2 separate regions of the Homo sapiens genome follow, and region 1 is linked to region 2. The links are contacts of gene promoters, found by promoter capture Hi-C in blood cells and fetal thymus (Javierre and others, 2016). All regions are on one chromosome and are shown on one strand. Each heading gives the region's core, a stretch centred on a gene start or on the middle of the fragment in contact. The rest is flanking DNA. Distances are from core to core; before and after follow the strand shown. Region 1 overlaps EPHB3 (EPH receptor B3). Region 2 holds the start of MAGEF1 (MAGE family member F1).

Region 1 (3,392 bases), core at 783-3,282, 140 kb before region 2:
GCCCAGCCCTGGTGCTGACCTTTCCTTCCACCTCTAAGTCCCTAGTCTGGAATTTGGGCTGAAGCCTTGCTGCTTCTGTCTTTAGTTGTTTTGTGTTTCTGTTTTTTGTTTTGGCTTGTTTTTTTCTGTTGTTTGTTTGTTTTCTGGGTCTCAATGACACTTTTGCTCCCAGGGTGCTATGGGGCCTGGCCCTCCACCAGGGCAGGTGGTAGGCCCTCAGCTGGTGCCCCTCCCACAGGCCAGGGTGCCCATGATGTCCTCCTCATGCCCTGCTCAAGGTCCTCGACCTGCAAGCGGAAGAGCCTTGCCCAGAGCTTCTGAAGCCAAATCTCTTCAGGGAGCTACCCTCTACCAAGGGCTCAGGGGCCCTGGAGACAGTGCCATTGTGCTGGCAGGGAAGTGGCTTGTTACTTGGGCAGCGGCTATACCTGGGGAGGCCGCACCCAGCCACACCCAGAATCATCTTCATGCCCCTGCTCCACCCCAGCCTCGTGACCTGACTGACAGCTCCTGCCCAAGCCAGGACAACAGGAAGCAGGGCTGGGGCTGTTTCCCTACACCTCTGGCTAAGGCTGCCCCAGCACCTCTGCTTCCCTTGCAAGAGTGGCCCATGTGGCTGCCCTGCCTGAGCGAGAGGCACCAGAGTGTTGGGGGCAGGATGAGGGGTACCACCCTCTCCCAGTAACTCTTCCTCTACCCCACTGGAAGACATCCCATAAACAGAACCATGCTTGCAGGGTGTGTGTGTGTGTGTGTGTGTGTGTGTGTGTGTTGCGGGTGCATGGAGGATGCACCTCTGAGGCTTTACACAAATCTAGGTATTGATACTTACACCATGTCAGGGTGCTCCTTTGCAGGGGCTGTGGCATATTTCAGTGTCATTGGACATCTGTGACTTTGCAGCTGATTGTAGTTTGTGTGACTAAAAGCATGTCGCCAAGTCTATACAGGGAAACTGGTGTTTGTGTTTGCACTTTACACCGAAGACTGTGTGACTTGCAGCTGGTGATAGCATGTGCAATTGGGTGTGTAAGGAGAACATACTGCAGGGTTGGGGGTGAGTGCCCTCTGTGTGCGCATATGTTTCAGGAAATCTGCACATAGGTAGGCTGGAAGCGTGGGTCCGCCTAAGGCAAGCCAGATCTCTGTGTAGGAAAGATTCACTGTATATGAATGTCTAAGGAAGACTAATCTGTTTGTACCATATGCATCCGTGTGTCTGAGAAAGACAGACCATGGCTCTGTGTGAAGCTGGGTGTGTGTTTGTGGGCGGCTGTGGCTTTGTGTGTTTTTGTCCACCATATGTGTTGACTTGTCACTCTTTAGCCCCAGTGGCGGGGAGTGAGCCCAGCCCCCAGGACTGGATGCTGCGCGTGCATCTGTGTGTTTGTGCATGGGTGAGGGCCACACAGCTGCTGCCACGTGGCTGCTCTCCATGGCCCTGTGGAAACCTGAAAGAGGTATTGCTTAGCTCCTGAGCATCAAAGCTCCAGTCCCCGAAAGACCCCAGGCCTGGTGACTACCTCCCTGGTGACTTTGCTGGGCAGTTGTGGTTTCCTGCCTGACACAGCCCAGTGTCTAGGGTGGCCAGCCTCTTCTCCCCTCTGCCTCCTGCAGATACATGGCAGGACGGCGAGGGATGGGGTGCAGCAGGCAGCTGGGGGAGTTGAGAACTTGCTCACTCACTCCTCTTTTGTCTTTACCCGCTGCCCCTCATACCCCCGTCCCAACGTGTGTATGTACAACACACGTACACACACGTGCACACACATGCACACGCCGCACACACAGCACAGAAAAGGTGGGCTGGGTCTCTTTCTCCCAATACCACGGACAGATGGGTTCTATGACCCCCCCCCCACATCCCCCTCACCTCCTGCCGAAGGCAGGGACCAGGCACCCCAGGGCTGAGGAGGGCCTTGCCCCGTCCTCTGTGCCTGGGCAGGCTGAAGGGAGCAGGCTCCTCCTCTCCCCCTGAGAAACGGGGAAACCGAGAGCACGCGGCCCCCTCCCCACCGGAGTGACCGAGCCCTTCCTCGGGCACACATGACTCGAAACCCAAGTCCTCTCTTCATTAATGGGAAAAATGTGGCGAGATTGAGCGATGGCCAAGGCTGAGCGATGGCCAAGGGCCGATCCCCTCCCTCCCTCCCTCTCTCGCTCCCCAGAAATTAAACAGAAATGAAGAGCCTCCCTGCCTCCCTCGCTCCCTCCCTCCTTCCCGCCGCCGCCTCTCCGCCGTCCCCTCCCTCCGCTCCCTCCTCCCGGAGCCAGCGCAGGGCTTGTTTTAAACTGTGGAGGAATCTGGCTGGAGGGGGAGGGGGCTGAATATTTGGGTTTAAACAGTTCCAGATGGGTTTGGCACAGGCTGAGCAGAAGGAAGTGAGGGAGAGGGAGGAGGGAGGCGGCGCGAGGGAGCGGCTGGAGCCCCGGCCTGCTCCGGCGGGCGGACCGGCGGGCGGACCGGCGGGAGGACTGGCTGCGGGGGCAGGGCGCGCTTGCTCTGCCGGCTCCCGGGACTGACACTCGCGCTGCCGGCTGGGGACGAGGCCGCCTGGCAACCTCCCTCTGTCCCTGTCTCCTCGGGCCTCCGCGTCTCTCGGTCTCCCTGTCTTTGTAGTCAGCCGCCGGCCATCCCGGCTGTCGGATCCCCGCCAGCCGGCTCCGCACATCCCTCCGGCTCCGTGCCGCCCACCGCCCGCCAGCTCCAGTCGCTGCCCCGCCCGCCTCCCTCCCCGCCTGTCTCTGTGGGCCCCGGCTTCTGAGCATCTCGGCTTCCCTCGAGTACCCCCCAGGCCGAATGTCTGTGTCTGTCTGTCTGTCTGTCTGTCTGCCAGAGGCCAGGATCGCTCCCCTTACAGCCGGGCCCTCAGGGGACCAGGGGCTGCGGCAGCGGGAGGAGCCTCCCTCCCTGCAGTGAATGGCTGCTGCCTGCAGCCCCTTTGCCTGACATGGCGGGGGGCTGGGGTCACAGCTGCCTTGTCCACCCACGGGGTCCTCCGCCGTCCTCGGCTCAGACCCAGCCTCCGGGAAACCACTGAAGGCTGCAAGCCTGTGGCCGCGGGGTTTGGGCTTTTCCCCACTTGGGCACCCAGAGGGGATGATGTAGAGGCCTCCAGAGGTCCTGGGGCAACCCTGCCCCATTCCAGCTTCAGAGCTGGCTGCACTGTCTTCCAGGCCACGGGAAAGGAGTTGGCACCTCTTTCCTTCCTTTCCTGACCCAGGTCTAATCTGGGGGTCACACTGTCTTTCAGAGAGTAGGGACATCCAGCCAGAGCGCAGAACCAGGTTCCTAAGGGAGCAAGTGTATGTCAGAAACATTAACGGGCCCCTCCTATGACCAAACAAGGTGAAACAGACAAGAAACCAGCTCAGAACACAGGCCGGGTACT
Region 2 (3,290 bases), core at 1-2,500:
GACCCTCGCCCCACCCATATTACTTATGACTCAGGACAGTAGTTCGTCCTCACGGGGACCCACTGGCCAACTTTTCACCAACCCTCACCAGAGGTGGATGCCGGCCCTAGCACTGGCCCTGGCCCTCATACTGGCTTCAGCTCTGGCCTTGGCTCTGGCCCTGTCGGCCTCGTCTGCTAGGGCCTCACGGTACTGCACTGGCCAGTGCTGCGGTTCCTTCTTATGCAGTTTGGCCACGAACCCCAGGACTTCCATCTTGCTGATTTCCAGGTTGCTTCGGGGACCCCAAGAGAATTCATATTCTGGTGGATTGGTGTGAGGCACCCGCCTGTAACTGAGATATCGCTGCTGCACAAAATCTTCCATAATAAGCCTCTTCGGATACCCAAAGAGGAAATGATACTTTGAGGGTTGCACCCCCAACCGACGCAGCATCTCCCAGACCTGGGCCTCCCTGGCGCTATTACCTCTCATATAGATAAGGCCCAGGATCATCATTAACAGACCCAATCTGGGGCCATCTCCTCCCAGATCCTCCTCCTCCTCCTCCTCCAGAGGTTTTAGTTTGTTGATCAGGATGTAAGTGTGGTGCTTGCGGTCAAACTGTTTCAGCTCAAAACCAAAGACATACCGCAGATGCTCTGCGGCCCTTGCGATGATGTCCGGGAACAGAATCTTCAAGTCTCCAATAACGTATTTCACCATCTCCGAGCGTGTGATGGGACTCTTCTTCTTGTCTTTCACCAGGAGGAACTGCACCAACTCCGCCACCGTCCGATTCAGCCGGCGGTAGGCCCTGCGCCTTGCCAAGGCTTTGGCCGCCAAGGCCCTCGCGCCTTTCCGGGTGAGGGCGGGCTCCGCAGCCCCCTCCTCCCTCCCGGCGCCAAGCTCCTCCTTGGGGCGCTCCTGCGAGGCGGTCGGGGCCCGGGTCTCACCATCATGGCCGCCATCCTTCTCCCCCTCGGCCTGCGGGACCGGGAGCCCCCTGCTCTCTGGTGTCTGCAACATGTTTTCGGGCAGGCAGGTGCAGAGCGCGTACACGGGCCGAGGGGTGTGGGAGCCGCCGCGCAAGCCCCGGGGGAGGGGTTGGACAGCGGCAGTGACGGCGGGAGTACAAGGAGCAATGGCAGCGGGAGCTTTGTGGCTGCTGGGCCGCACCGCACGGGAGTCAAACCTGCGGCCGCAACGCCGCCAGCAGCCGGAACCTGCGGCGCGCAGCCTCAGTCCGCGCCCGCGCGAGGGGCCACTTCCGGCCACCTCAGCCAGGACGGCGACCCTAGTGCCGCGCGCAGCCCCTCCTTTTCCGGTCCCTTCTGGGTTGGGGGTGTGCCCAGGCTGCTATAAGTGGAAATGCCCTGGAGGGTGGGGACGGGGGTGCGCCCTGTGACGGATTTTAGGCTTGAAAAGTCGGGGGCGGGGGAATGTAACCAGGACTCTCCCATCCAAGGCATGCAGACTGGGGAATGTTTCGGTGTACAAGAGATGAAATAGGGATGGAGTGCCCCCCACGTTCTTTCTGCAAGTGCCTATTTGTGAGTGTGTGTATCTGGGATTTTCAGTGCTTTACCGGGGCTCTTGTGCAGAGTGCACGGTGAAGGCTGCGAGGTAAGACTGTGCGAACCAATTAGTAAAGGATGCTAGGGAGACTGAAATTTATTCTGGACGTAAAGAGAAAATACTGCAGCGGGATTTAAGCAAGTGAGTGTCCAGACCAGATCTGTGTCTTCGGTTCTGGCGGTATTGTGGAAGATAGATTGGAGTTCGGCCGGCTAAAAGCTAGAATCCAGTTTGGAGGATTATTATAGTGCAAACTAGGAACTGGGACCCGGCCTATTTACTGGGTTGTATCCTCGGTGCCTAGAGCAGTGCCTGACACGGAGAGGAACTCAATAAATATTCAATGGATCATTATGATGAGGGAGTAAGGACAGCAGATTCCATGGGGATAAGAGGAAAATACTGAGAAGTACAGCAGGAATAGGGACTGGTTGGAAGAAAGGGGAAGTTTGTTCTTTTTTTTTTTTTTTTTTGCGCAAGTCAAATTTGACTACTCCCATGTATTTCTTTTCTTTTTCTCTTTTTACACACTCTGAGCTTTCTTCTGCTTCTTGCTCCTTCCTTCCTTCTTTCCTTCCCTCCTTCCTTCCTTCCTCCCTCCCTTCCCTCCTTCCCTTCCTGCCTTCCTTCCTTCCTTCTTTCCTTCCTTCCTTCCTTCCTTCTTTCCTTCCTTCCTTCCTTCCTTCTTCCCTCCCTCCCTCCCTTCCTTCCCTGTCAGAAATGCCCTCTCTATCACCTCCATTTCTCCAAATCCTGTCCACTATTCAGGGCCCAGTTTAAACATCACCTTCCCAAGCCTTCCTTAGTCACCACGCATAGAAGTTATTTACTGTCATCTCTGAATCACCTTAGCAATTGTTAACATCCACATATATAGGCTTTATTAGGTGCCAGGCTCCGTTCTAATCACTTTTCAAATATTAATTCATCAGATTCTCACTAATGTAGGTACTAATACCATCATCCCCATTTTATAGATGATTGTATCTTTTCTGTGACACAGTTTGCTACTTACTAGCTATGTAATCTTGGGCAAGTTACCTAAACTTCTGCCCTTCTGTTACCTTATCAGTAAAATGAGTATAATAGTAGTAACAGCATTGTGGAGATTATGTGAAGTAATGCACATAAGCATTTAACACAGTGCTTGGCACATATTGATATTCAATACATGTTAGCTGTTAATTAATGCATATTTTTATATGCAATATACAATATTAGAATTGCAAGATGAACTGTCCTGGAATGCCTAGCACTCTGTGGAGATGCGGAGGAGGTGTCCTGGGACATAGCACTGAACCGGGTCAGTACTCACCCATTCTGTGACCTTGTACAGGATGCTCAAACACCCTGGGCCACTTTTTTCTGATACTGTAGCCCTGCTAGGTAAGTGGTATTAGCCCCATTTTCCAGGTGAGGTTACACACAAGGAGGTTAAGTAACTTGCCCAACATCACACAGCTGGGATGTGAACCCATATAGTATGACTCCAGAGACTGTGCTCTTAACCACTACATTCATAGATGTTAATTATTATTATTATCATTTACTATATTTTGTATTATAATTTGTTGTGCTTATCTTATTACCCTCCCCAAACCAAACATCCTAAAAGCTAGGGCTATGTTTTTAACTCTTTTGAAGAGCTTCTCTTAGTCAATACTCGATATATAATTGCCAATGAATAAATGACAGAAGGCTTTACTTTTTTCCCTAGGAAATAACAGTTACTT

Evidence for each region. The method cuts DNA at HindIII sites, captures the fragments that hold promoters and counts their contacts. A CHiCAGO score of 5 or more calls a contact.
Region 1: a contact is called between a fragment that was not itself captured here and the fragment with the promoter of MAGEF1 in region 2, in 3 of 17 cell types (M0 macrophages, non-activated CD4 T cells and monocytes). The highest score is 6.2, in M0 macrophages.

Annotation. Positions count from the first base shown.
Region 1 is chr3:184,566,743-184,570,134 of GRCh38, forward strand. The region is part of intron 1 of EPHB3 (EPH receptor B3); the gene reads left to right. Among named protein-coding and RNA genes, the nearest start is that of EPHB3, 6.7 kb to the left of the region's middle. RefSeq lists enhancers at 1,110-1,624, 1,625-2,137, 2,480-3,392. The HindIII fragment of the contact is 9,394 bases long and covers 1-3,392 here.
Region 2 is chr3:184,710,814-184,714,103 of GRCh38, forward strand. It overlaps MAGEF1 (MAGE family member F1), which reads right to left and starts at 1,251. Exons shown (of 1, transcript NM_022149.5): 1 at 1-1,251. The coding sequence starts at 1,008. The coding sequence ends at 85. It overlaps LOC107986163 (a long non-coding RNA gene), which reads left to right and starts at 1,430. Exons shown (of 5, transcript NR_160768.1): 1 at 1,430-1,605. RefSeq lists an enhancer at 451-510. The HindIII fragment of the contact is 12,590 bases long and covers 1-3,290 here.